3 separate regions of the Homo sapiens genome follow, and all the other regions are linked to region 2. The links are contacts of gene promoters, found by promoter capture Hi-C in human tissues and cell types (Jung and others, 2019). All regions are on one chromosome and are shown on one strand. Each heading gives the region's core, a stretch centred on a gene start or on the middle of the fragment in contact. The rest is flanking DNA. Distances are from core to core; before and after follow the strand shown. Region 1 overlaps MYO1B (myosin IB). Region 2 holds the start of MYO1B (myosin IB). Region 3 has its middle 22 kb from the start of STAT4.

What was found. The method cuts DNA at HindIII sites, captures the fragments that hold promoters and counts their contacts. A contact is called where the count stands out against the background at its distance.
Region 1: a fragment that was not itself captured here is called in contact with the fragment with the promoter of MYO1B in region 2 in 2 of the 25 tissues and cell types used here (IMR-90 fibroblasts and mesenchymal stem cells).
Region 3: a fragment that was not itself captured here is called in contact with the fragment with the promoter of MYO1B in region 2 in 3 of the 25 tissues and cell types used here (bladder, hippocampus and liver).

The regions. Positions count from the first base shown.
Region 1 is chr2:191,324,759-191,328,959 of GRCh38, forward strand. The region is part of intron 3 of MYO1B (myosin IB); the gene reads left to right. Among named protein-coding and RNA genes, the nearest start is that of MYO1B-AS1, 81 kb to the left of the region's middle. The HindIII fragment of the contact is 3,039 bases long and covers 367-3,405 here.
Region 2 is chr2:191,242,452-191,246,674 of GRCh38, forward strand. MYO1B (myosin IB) reads left to right here and starts at 2,953. Exons shown (of 31, transcript NM_001130158.3): 1 at 2,953-3,175. It overlaps MYO1B-AS1 (MYO1B antisense RNA 1), which reads right to left and starts at 3,724. Exons shown (of 4, transcript NR_186085.1): 1 at 3,468-3,724; 2 at 1,169-1,622. RefSeq lists an enhancer at 2,839-3,461 and a silencer at 2,874-3,263. The HindIII fragment of the contact is 14,933 bases long and covers 1-4,223 here.
Region 3 is chr2:191,170,715-191,174,667 of GRCh38, forward strand. It overlaps the pseudogene HMGB1P27. Among named protein-coding and RNA genes, the nearest start is that of STAT4, 22 kb to the left of the region's middle. The HindIII fragment of the contact is 6,101 bases long and covers 1-3,953 here.

The DNA.
Region 1 (4,201 bases), core at 636-3,135, 81 kb after region 2:
CAGTGAAGCCTTCCAGGATAAAGGTACAAATAACTATAAAGACTTATTTTCCCTAAAGTTTTACCTTAAGATGTGATAAGATGAATGTCTGGTGGAAGGGCATAACACTAACTTGACAATGATATCAAAATGTCAACTTGGGGATATTTTCCAATTGGGCAAATGTTTCTGAATTAAGAATATGAGACAATTATAGATATAAAGATATAAGGAAGGCCAACGTAGTGCCTCTCCTTAAGAAAACTCAAGGTTTCCATGCAAAACACACCATACATAATTCCCTTTCTCCTTTTCCTTCTCTTCCATGTCCTTGTGGACCACCTCAATCCTGATTGGGCTTAGCGTGAAGTTAGAATTGGGGAAGCACATGGAGGTTAGGCATTTTTAAAAAACACTTTTTTGGGGGTTAGTTTAGAAACACCCAGTTTTAGGACTAAACCAGAGCTAGTAAGGAAAAGAAATAGTGGAGACTTGTATATCTCAATTGTAGATGGGAATTTTGAGACTGAGCTATTTTGAGAGGTTTGAATTCCAAAGGAGAATTTCCTGGTGTTATTTGAAAGTACTCTAGGGCTCAAGATTAAATGAAAAGGAATAATACCATTTTGAGAGCTTTTGAAGAAAATGACTTGAAATAAGAAGGTAGAAACAGTTATCTAAGTTCAGGTAAGTTTCCTGAGACAAATTTAGTTCTGTTAAACACTTTGGCTAATGGAGAGGTCCAACTACCAGTTCTCAGAATGGATTAGATTGTCTTTGGAGAATGATTTCTCAAGCAACTCTATAGGGAAGAGCTGGAGAGGCTGAAACATGGGGCCATGTTTGAAAGAACATAAGCTTTGGATGTATTTCGGTGTCACAGACATCTTTTCTGCTTTGCACTTGAGGTGAAACAAACCTAGGAAGGAAATGGCAGGGTAGAGAACATGGAGCTTTGGGAAAAGAAGCCCTGCCATTGTGTCTGATGGCCATGAAAGCAGAACCACTCTGACGAACACTCTGAACAGAAATAAGATGGGAGAGGAACAAAAATACCAGCTAGACAATTGTGAACATGCAACCCAGCATTCCACCGTGACAGAAAATAACAGATGAGCCCCAAACCAAACTTCTAAAACCTAAAAGTGATAGATACAGCTGTCTGGAAACATACTTAGTGCTAGGGAAAGTTTGGCTCTCAAAGAACAGCCGTGTAGCTGATCTGGAAATGAAGGGGAGATGGCCTTTAAACATCGGGCTGACCCTATTCTTAGAGCTCAACTAGAGGACAGAAGAAGAGGATAAAACCATGCCCTTAATGTGGTAGGACTAAAACTGTGTTTACTCCCTTACGCTATCGTCATTATATTATAATTAACCATTCATTTCTCTGTGTGGTAAATAACAATGCTGACACGGTCACAAAATAATGTGAAGCATATGGGTCACAACCGTTTTTAACTAAAGACTTCTCTAAAGATTTATTTAGGTTCCTTAATTACAGAGTGGCTTGGAAGACTGGCATGTGGTTTCAGTTTATAGTTATAAATGTTGGAGCTGATGATGGGTACGTGCTCTTATTGCCAGAGAGGGAGAGGAACAAGATTGGGAGGGGGTTTGTGTTCTTTGGGGCCCTCCCTTTTGCCCCCACCCCTTGTTTTTTTAAAGAAATTGAAGATCTGTGTTTATAAGAAATAAGTCTGATGACATTTATACTGTCCTTGAGATGGGTATGCCAGTAGTTACAAGCAAATTTTTCCAGTGCTTAAGTACTTTAATTGGTAAATTTTCACGTCACTTTGAACTCAGTGGCTCTCTAGAATCCTGAAAGAATAAATCCCTTTTAGCCTTTGTCTTCTATTAAAATTATACTCTCTGTTAGATGAATGAGACCCTGTCTTTGAGGACAGCAGTTAAGTATTTCAGCCTGGATAGAGAAGAAAAAAATAAGTATTCAACTTAGGTTCTTTGAGTTAAAATGAACTCACAACAGGGTGATTTGGTGATCTTCCAAAGCCTTGTGTTTGTATATATGTGTGTGTGTGTGTGTGTGTGTGTGTGTGTGTGTGTGTGTGTGTGCGCGCGCCATATATGTTACTCATTTTTGAAGTAATTTTGCATTATTTTGGAACCAGTGGTAAATATAATGCAAAGTTGTAGCCCTAGGAGCATGGGAAAAAGGTCTGTATTCAACAATACATGAAGAATTCAGTGAGTACGTATTATATATTGGAAAACTTCTTTTGTATTTACTGTAATGTGTTTTCCTGCATTTCTTGCCAATGATGATAATGAAAGTGGCATCTCAAAATATTATCTGAACATTGGAGGAGCAGAAGGGGAGGAAGGCTCATAAAAAAATCTAAGCAATGCTTTCCTTTCCTACATGAAGGTCATAGAAGAAATGAATTTCCCATTGTTTATCATTCTTCATGGAGCTCACTCCAGTAGGGACTTTGCCACTGCTTCGAGAGCATCCACTCATTCATCCATCCCTTCATTTATGACTTGGTATTGGTTACATTTCATGTTTATGTCTCTGTGGCATAAACATGGCATAAAGATTAATTAGAAAGGCTCTGCCCTAGAGGAGTTTGTATTCTGGTAGGGAATAAGAAGGTGTGTACATAACTAATTATAACACACAAAGATTTTCTGACATTTATTCAGGGCTTTATAAATTTCAAAGTGCTTGTATGCACTTTTATTTGATCTTCTAAAGTATGTGGCTACATTCTCCATGTTGGAGATGAAGACACTGAAGTTCAGCCATGGTAATGACTTGCTTGAAGTCAAGTAGGTGTTGAGATACATCTATAGGGCCCAGGGAATTGCATCTGAGATGTTTTCTGCCTCTGTGTTCATTGTTTTCCACTATCCCCATTATGCAATGGTGCACAGACTGGGGAATCAGAATGTGAGAGAAGGCTAAGGCCACAAGCAGCTGTGAAGCTTGAGCAAGGCTTTGGTTGTGTAGAGAATGGTTGAAAGGCCTTTGAGAGACAGAGATCAGTGCACATTGTTCAAAGGAACAAGCTAGAACAAGCTGTTATTCAAAAAAGACCCTGGTGTCAGGATCTTTTTATTACTTTTTTTCTGTCTGTCGTTTTATTCATACATTCATTCAACAAATGCACTTAGAGTATACAGTACTTATTATATGCAAGGCAGCAGACTCACTGATATGAAGGTTACAAAATAAGACTAGGGGTGGCTATCCTTGAGGATCTCACAGTAGTTCAGCTGGAAGGTAAGATATGCTGGCAAATAATTGTAGGAGAACATGATGAGAGAGGGAAGAATGTGATTCACAGTATTTCTGGGTTCAAGTTATGACTCTTCTGAGAATGGGATCATGGGCTTCTCATGTCATCTCTTAAGACCATGTTTCTTTAAGGAGGCTAGCATTTAATTTGCAGGTCTGTGTTGAAGATTAAGTCCAATTGTGAATCCTAGGACACTTTACTGGGCTCCTGGCACATCAAAGGTGTTCAGTAAATTGTCATTATTTATGGTTCCGTATGCCTTTGGAAGAAAAGCCAAAGTCCTTGACTGGTGTGAACAGCTCTCTGTGATCTACTTGGCCAAATATACACTCTTCCTGTATCCCAGTCTTTCACCAGTCTCCTGGCTGCAGACTGGTTGCTCTCTGCACCCTTGTCACCCTGTGGTCTATGCAAAATGCAAAGGTGCTTTATCCCAGTGGTCAGTCGCAGGCGTTAGCTCTGGCCCTGCTGTGTCACACTGGCAGTGGACCTCAGCAAGTTATGCCTTTGCTTTGTGCTGGTCTTGTTGTGAGATTTAAAATGACTAAACGTAAAGAGCTTGGAGGCAGTTCTGGTACATGGTAAATTGGATATTATTAATTCCAATTACTGTCTTATCCATCCTGCACTGAAGCTTCCTATCAGCTCTTTTGTTTTTCATTTGGAACCTGCCTATCTCTCTCCGCAGCTCATCTCTTATCCTCTCTTCATTATGCTTTGCTTTGCCTTCCAGCTACATCGAACTGCACATAATCCTTCACCCCACCTCCATGATGTTTTGGCCTTTATTTTTGTCTAAAAGACATTTGTCTTGCTCATTCATTCTTTAGGACTGAGTTTTCCACCTCTTGAGTTTCTCTGAGTCCATTCTCCACCCCTTTGAGGTTTGTCTTGTTCTGCCATGTTTTGCACATACCTTTATCATTGGGCTTAATGTATTGGCTCCATTTTCTCTT
Region 2 (4,223 bases), core at 1,703-4,202:
CCAGGCTGGAGTACACTGGCGTGATCTTGGCTCACTGCAACCTCCACCTCCTGGGTTCAAGTGATTCTTCTGCCTCAGCCTCCTGAGTAGCTGGGACTACAGGAGCGTGCCACCACGCCTGGCTAATTTTTGTATTTTTAGTAGAGATGGGATTTCACCATATTGGCCAGGCTGGTCTCGAACTCCTGACGTCATGATCCGCCTGCCACAGCCTCCCAAAGTGCTGGGATTACAGGTGTGAGCCACTGCGCCCAGCCTATTATCTATTCTTGACAATTGTGGGAATAACTTTAATCTGCTTTTTATAATTTCAAAAGTTGTTGATTGATTGGTTTTTGAAAAAAATGGCCAGGAAGGTAAAAGTGTTTTAAAACCTGTATGTCCTCAGAAACTTGGGTTTTGAGATTTATGAAAACTAGGTAAACAGTATTTTTAAAAGAGAAGCATGATTTTTCTCTAGAAATATTTTTGGCTAATAACTTGGTTCATTTTCTTAGTGTTTATTAGGATAAGTTCTACAGTTTCTATTATTTTCTTTTTTGAACTTGCTAAAATCATGGAGAAAGTCTTAATTGTCCTCACTATGCGAGGTCCTTCTAGAGGCCGAACTGTTCTGACATAACTGTGTCCTATCCCTTTCTTGAGTCAGGAGTTTCAAAACTTTACTTCTAGTAGCTAGCTATTTTGATAGACCTACTCAGCACATAGTTGTCTCAAACCTACTTTTTCTAAAATCTGGCCACCTTCCAAGATCAAAAGTTTATAGAATTCCCCCACTCTTCAATTTGTATACATCTTATATTCATGAACCTGCCATCTGCATTTCTGCTATTTTTGAAAAGCTGAACTGGACAGTAGAGGTCAGAAGTTCCATGAACTGCCAAACTGCTATAAGCAGTCACTTGGGAACCTAAACTCAGACAAGCAAAATGGAGAAGTGAGTCTAACACACGTCACCAGGTAGCAGGTTCATATGTTGCCTATTGTGAAGGCTGGGATCTCCAGGGTTTTCATTATGCTAGGTTATCAAGGTCTGAGGTAGTGTGCTTGATAGTGAAGACTATAGAGTCAGACTATCTGGGTTCAAATTCCAGCTCTGTCACTGTTCTAGGTGTCTATTGCTATGTAACAACCACCCAGATGACAATCTTTTATTATTATCACTTACGTTTCCGGGGCCTGATTTGGCTCAGCTAGGTTTTCTCTCTAGGTCTCTCAGGCAGCGTGGTCAGTGACTGTGGCTGGAGTTCTTTCAAAAGCTCGCCAACTCACATGCTTGATATAAGTTGTACTGGCAGTAGACCAGGTCCTCAGCTGGCACCATCAGCCCAAACACCTACACATGGCCTTCCCTGTGGCTTGAGCTTCCTCACAATATGGCAGCTGGGTTCCAAGGGTGAGTGTCCCAAGGGAGAGCCAGGTGAAAACTTCATCTCCTTTTATGACCTAGGTTTGGAAGTCACATAGCATCACATCTGCTGTATTCTATTTGTTACAATCAAATCACTAAGTCCAGACCATATTCAAAAGGAGGGCAATTAATATCCACTCTCTAATGGGAGTCTTCAAACCACCATAGCCATGTATTCCCTGAAGACCTCTCTGTCCTTGGCTTTGCTGGTCTGTAAAACAAGGATAATGAGAGAAACTTACCTCAGAGCTTTTTGTGAGGATTAAACAAAGAACAGTCCCTGGTACCCAGTATGTGTTAGTTTCGCCCATTATCACACCACTTGTACATCTGAAGTGATGCTGATGGTGACATCAATGATGAGACAGTTCCCAGCAGATATAGTCTGTGAAGGTCCCACCTTTCCAAACTCTACTAGTGGCATTTAACAAATCCCAGCGCCTGTGGTTCTTATGCCAGTGGGAACAGTTACTATATATGGTCTGAATTCTTTGGTTCACCTCACTTTAGTGACAGTTTCCAGATACAGGTCAGTCCATTTAAACCTGGCCCATTTATGGCAATTTATTTCATTATAGGATAAAGTAGTTAGAACCATGAGTAATAATTACTGTGTCTACAGTGCTTTTAACACCTCAGCCAAGTAATCCTCATCTCACCCAGTGAGTAAGTTTGAATGCGCACCCTTCCCTGTGCGAGGATGAAGAAACCAGGACCTGGGTCAAGAGGATTGTTCTAAATTCTCCAATGAGGCAATAGGGCTTGAGTGAGAAGGTGTGTGTGTGTGTGTAGGGGGGGTGTCCTGATTCTCTGGCCCCTACATGCCTGTATAATATACCCCATCACTGATCATTACTCAGGACCTGTTAATACACTCTATTCAAATACGTATGGGTATTTGAAATTTCTTTTAAACTACCTCTCATGTATTTATAACACAAAGAATTGGCCAGTGTCTATTTCCCACAATGTGAGATTAAGTAATTTAAAAGATACTAAAAGTCTTGTAAATGAAGACACACCACACCACTCAGTATAATTTTTTTCTTTTTCTGTGAAACTAATATTTTCTGATATTCTCGGCATCCAAAAATTTTCATCTTGGGGAGGAGGAAAAATTGAGACTTACTCCCACTGTTTGCCGGAATGTGACCCCAGGCTGGCTTCGAGTTGTCAAATGTTGTATTTCTCATTTTATGTCAGTGAGTCTGGAAGCAAAAAAGGTAGAAAGACTGCCTTCCGTGGGGGCCGCGACGATCGCCCCTCCTTCCCTCAAGCCTCGTCCCATCCAGGCTCGCCCCGGGTGCGGAGGGTCGGGCCGCAAACCCGCAAGGCGCGGAGGCCGCCGCGACGCTCACCGGGGGGCGCTGTGAAGCCGGCACCGGGCGGACAGAGGTGAGTCGGCTCGGAGGCGGTGGCTCCCGTTCCTGCCCGCGCGCCGAGGGGCGAATCCCAGGCAGCGAGGTCGCCGCCCCCGCCCCTCGGCCGGCCCCTCCGCCAGCGGGCGAGAGGGGAGTGGCCGGGCTCCTCCCGCCGCCGCTGAGCACTCCGCAGCTGGGTGCGCACGGGAGCCTCAACCGCGGCGCGTGGAGGCAGTACCAGAGCGCGCGGCGCGCAGTCGGCCGGCAGCCGCGGGACAGCCTTGGCAGAACAGCCGCGGCGGGAGCCCCGCAGCCCCGGGCTGGGCCCGCGTCCCGGAGCGCCACCGGAGAGCGAGGACGACGTGGAGGCGGAGTGGCGCCCGGCGAGGTAGCGCCAGGCGAGGTAGCGCGAGCGCTTTCTCTCTCTCTCCCCTGCCCTTCCCTCTGCGTCCGTCGTCGGCCCCCGAGGCGCCTGCTCCGCGCCTTTGTGCCCGCGGTCCCTGGCCCCGTCGCACCCTGCGGGCGGGGGTCAGCGGGCTCTGCCGCTCTCTTGGGAGACGCGGCGCTGCGGCGGGAACGGCGCACGCTGTAGGTTGCGGAGGGTGGTCGTGACTCCGCAGTGGCTTCGGGGGTGGCGGGAGGGAAGAAGGGCTTGTAAACTAAGTTGCTCTTACTTTGCCCCATGCCTCTCGTACCTGTGGGCAGAGTCGAATCTCGGCTGTCCTCGTGTTCACCCACAGCCCCTCCATTCCTCTGGCCCACAGCTGTTTCCTGGCCCCCTGGAAAGACACGGTGTGGCTTCCTCCGGGCAGGAAAGCGGAGGGAGAACAATGGGGCGTCCTGGGGAGTGGGGTTCAGGTGCGGTGTGCCCCGGCGGCGGCGGGGGAGGAGGGGCCCGGGACGCTGTGGGCCTCCCTGCGCGTGCAGCTGCGCTCGCCTCCTTTGTTCCGCCGCAGCGGAGGGGGTTGCCCTGGGTCTCGTTTCCTGCCCGGGATGGGATTGATTCACGGTCCCAGAGAGGGAAGGGGAAGGGGGCGGGGCTGGAATGGAAACCAGATTAGAGACGGGAGCTACGAAGGGTGGTGGGGCCGGGAAGAGAGTTGGGGAGAGGGTTGGGAGAGGGTGATGAGAGCGCGCTGGAGAGGTAACTACAAACACACAACATTTTGTTCAAGGGCCATGTGAGTTTCTAGAGCTTATTTGTAGTGCTTTGTTCAGGCTTCGGCCCAGCGTTTATTGCTGCAACAAGTTGTGTGCTTCTTGAGTTTCTAGGCGTTCCCAATGTTAGATTGCTCAAAGCAAATCTTCTTAGTTACAGTGAAAGAAGCCCCCCCCCCTTTTTTTTTGAGATTTGAAAAAATTTTGCTATGAACTATGGTATTGGTGTGTATGTGTGTGCCTCTGGGTCTGTGTGTGTAGCTAGTGGATATTGGCTGGAATGGGTAGGAGAC
Region 3 (3,953 bases), core at 569-3,068, 73 kb before region 2:
TTTAGTTTTAAAATGATCCCTGCAGCGTAGTTATTATTATCCCATATTATAGATGAGGAAATTGAGGGTTAGAGGGTTCAATAACTTATGCAAATTCAAACAGCAATTAAGTAGCAAATTAGGGATTTTAAACCAGTTCTATTCAATGCCACTTCTTCTGCACATGCACATTCAGATGTCATCTTCAGAGACATCAAAGTAGAATTTGTAAATGACAGAAGCTGAGAAGTGCAAGGACCCAGACTCATCTACAATATCTACTTCCTGGCCGTGACTCATCAGAGGAAAACTACGAATTATGGTTTTACTAAATCAAGGAGTTATATTCGATGACTTTTCAAATCTTCTCTCATCCCCTTGAGTCTATGATCCCTTATCAAATTTCTACTGCTCCCTAAACATTTCAGATTTCAAGAGCTCAGTTGAATCAATGAGGAACTCTTACCCATATTGAAGGAAATGTCTTTTATAGTGATATGTTCCTGTTTCCCTAAAACACCACGAGCAAACTTCAAATACCATTCCAACTTTTGCCCTTTTTTTTTTGTCCACACCTCTTTCAAAAATAAGTAACAGCATTAACAAAAACCAACAAAATTTGGCCCTAGCCCATCTGAAGTATCAGCCAGATTTGCATTTAGTTCCCCAGACCAAAGTAGGAGAAGCAGTTAGCTGGTTACAAGCCCTTCACAGTGCTAAAGAACAATGAATGGAGGGCTTCAAAATCAAAACCATACGTTTGGTAGGAAACAGCTCCAACTGGTGCTTGATTACTAACTAGGCGTTCTGCTTCTAACATGATTAGGACAAACACAGAAAACCCTGTAGGGTTTGAACTGATGGACTGATGTTTCCCTCCCAGGAAGAAAAAGAGCAGTATCCAATGGCATTGAATCACTGTGATTCTGGATACCTTCAAAAGCCAGGGCTTTGAGGGGGTTCTCATTTCTATGCCACACAGTGAGCCCTTCTCTTTCTCAGGAATCCTCTCCAGAGAGAGAGGCTTTGTGTAGAATTTTCCTGAATGCAATGAATGTCAGCACATTCCCAGCTAGAATGTGCATTCTATTCTTATCAAGTGAAACTGACCTCCCTGCCCCAGCATGCTCTCCTTGTTCAACATGATGATTAATTTCAATGATGCAGGTTTCTAGATGAATTGCACTAGAATTTGCATCCACTCCAGATGGCAAATATGTACCTCTGGAATCTCCTCACCCTTAGGAAAGAGGTCATGTGCTAGCTTGCAAGAATGAGGATTTTTAAAATAGTTGGCTTACAATCAAATCTGTGTCCCACAAAATGCTCTGTCCAGACTAGCCTCTCTCCTTTTAGTTGGCAGCGATCCTCTCCTTCCTACTCATTTTCCATCTGATACCATGTGACTCAAGTAGGAGTCACAACCAAAATGAATTTTTTTTACTGCAAAATTCAAGATTTTACAGTATTTTTTCAGCCAATGGAAGCAACCAGGATTCATAAGAGTCTGCAAGTTGATGTTCAATAGGCCCCTGAATCATGCTTATTCACAGATTTCCAAGTTAATTGCCCTGATACATGCTACTGAGCTTCTTCTAGTGAACAAAAATCTTACTCCATTAGTCATCACTGTCAAAAGGAATACAGTACGCAAAATAAAAGCTGGTCCTCTTTTTGTGTGCATTTCTGCATCAGAGTGATTGTTTCAACATTGATTAAATACAGATTTCCCCCCAAAGCTTTGTTGGAAGCGCTAAGTGGTTCAGGTGATGGAAAGTGAGTTAATTCATGTGCTCCCCTAAGTATTTTTTATTGAGGCATTTTCTTAGGATTCAAAGCAAAAAGGAAGGAAATTGCTCTTATGTGTATCAAGGAAGTCCAAATACTCACATGGACAAATAGCTGCCCCACTTCATTCGCCCTTCTTTGCATCCCAGAACTGTCACCTCCAGGAGCCTCTGCTGAGGTTACCATGGAGCTGTGGGGAAAATTTTGTTTGGAGCTTTCAGAGGATCTGTGGGGATAAACGTGGATGAAGACAAAAACCTGAAAATCTAGGGGCTGGCTCTGGGTTGGGGCAGAATCATAAGAGCTGGCCCACCCACCCAGCAGTGTCCTGGCTCCCTCATTACCTGAAATTCCACAAATTTAGTTCAAGACAACGCACATTTGCTGTGTCCTGGGAATTCTGAGATAACTAAAAAAAAAGCTCACGGTATAATGGGAAAGGTAGGAACTTTGTTATAAGATAACTCTGCCTGAAAGAGGTGAAAAGGCATTACTGAGGTATTTTTGAGCCAGATTTTGAAGGCAGGATGGAAGATTGCCAAATGCAGAAGAGAAAGCCAAGGGAATCCCATTTACAAAGGTCAGGGCCTGATTTGCTGTGGCAGAAGAATGGGATCTGGAGGAACCTAGCACTCACAGGAGAGGAGATGAGGCAGGTTTCGCCAGGCCCGAAGACGTGGCCACCAAAGTGTAAGATAGTGTGATCTGCAACAGTGCTGGAAATAGACTGGGGTAGGGAGAGACCAGTTGTGAGGTTTTTGCCATAGTCCCAGCAAGTACTTATGAAGATCTGGACGGCAGTGACAGCAGGACTTAAAAAAAAAAAAAATCACATCTTAGAAATTTTTTTTTCTTTTTTTTTTTGAGATGGAGTCTCTGTCTCACAGGCTGGAGTGCAGTGGCTCAATCTCACTGCAACCTCTGCTTCCTGCCAGAGTGGCTCACTGCAATCTCTGCCTCCTGCCAGGTTCAAGCTATTCTCCTGCCTCAGCCTCCTGAGTAGCTGGAATTATAGGTGCTTGCCACCACGCCCAGCTAATTTTTTGTGTTTTTAGTAGCGATGGGGTTTTACCATGTTGGCCAGGCTGGTCTTGAGCTCCTGAACTCAGGTGATCCTCCTGCCTCAGCCTCCCAAAGTGCTGGGATTACAGGCATAAGCCACCGTGCCCAGCCCTTAAAGACATCTTTGGAAGGTAGAATTGACAACATTGGATGTGGGTGATAAGGGAGATGTCTGCAGAGGTTTCTAGTTTGGGGGATTAAGCTGATGGTGGCAGTTCTGAGTGAGGTTTCTATCTACCTCTATCTCTTCATCTGTCTGCTTCTCTCTCGGTCTCTTTCTCTGCCTCTATTTTTTCTATTTCTGTTTTTCTCTGAGACATTCTATACCTGTCTTTTGTCTCTTGCTTTTTTATGTTATCAGCTTCGTTCTACACATCAGTTCCATTCTCCTCTCTATAATGACCAACTTCTTCTGCCCCCTGGTAACTCAAGATGACACATGCCTTTGACTTTCCATAGCTTTCATTCCCTTGAAATTCTCTCACTTCCCATTCCACTGTTCATTATAAAGTTCGTTCCATATTTTTCTGTTCAAATTTCCAATAAAGAGAATCTAATGAGAGGCAGCATCTGGCTCCCACTGTCATGGCTATTGCAGTACATTGAGCTCCATAGAAATAGTGCTGGGGAAAGTGAGAATTGATAAGCACTGGGCCACTCTGTTGGTGGCTAAGGAAAAATTACTAAACATGCGCAAAGGAGATCCTAAGAGGCCATGGGGCAACATGTCATCATATGCATTCTCTGTATAGACTTGCTGGGAGGAAGCACAAGAAGCAGCATCCAGCTCCTTCGGTCAGCTTCTCAGAGTTGTCTCAGGAGTGCTCAGGGAGGTGGAAGGCCATTTCTGCTAAAGAGAAAGGAAAATTTGAAGACATGGCAAAGGCAGACAAAACCTGTTATGAAAGACAAATGAAAACCTAATCCCTCCTAAAGGGGAAACAAAAGAGGAGTTTAAGGAAACCAGTGCACCCAAGAGGCCTCTTTTGGGCTTTTTCTTGTTCTGTTCTGAGTATCACCAAGATCAAAGGAGAATATCCTGGCCTACCCATTGATGACATAGCAAAGAAACTGGGAGAGATGTTAATAACACTGCTGCAGATGGCAAGCAGCCTTATGAAAAG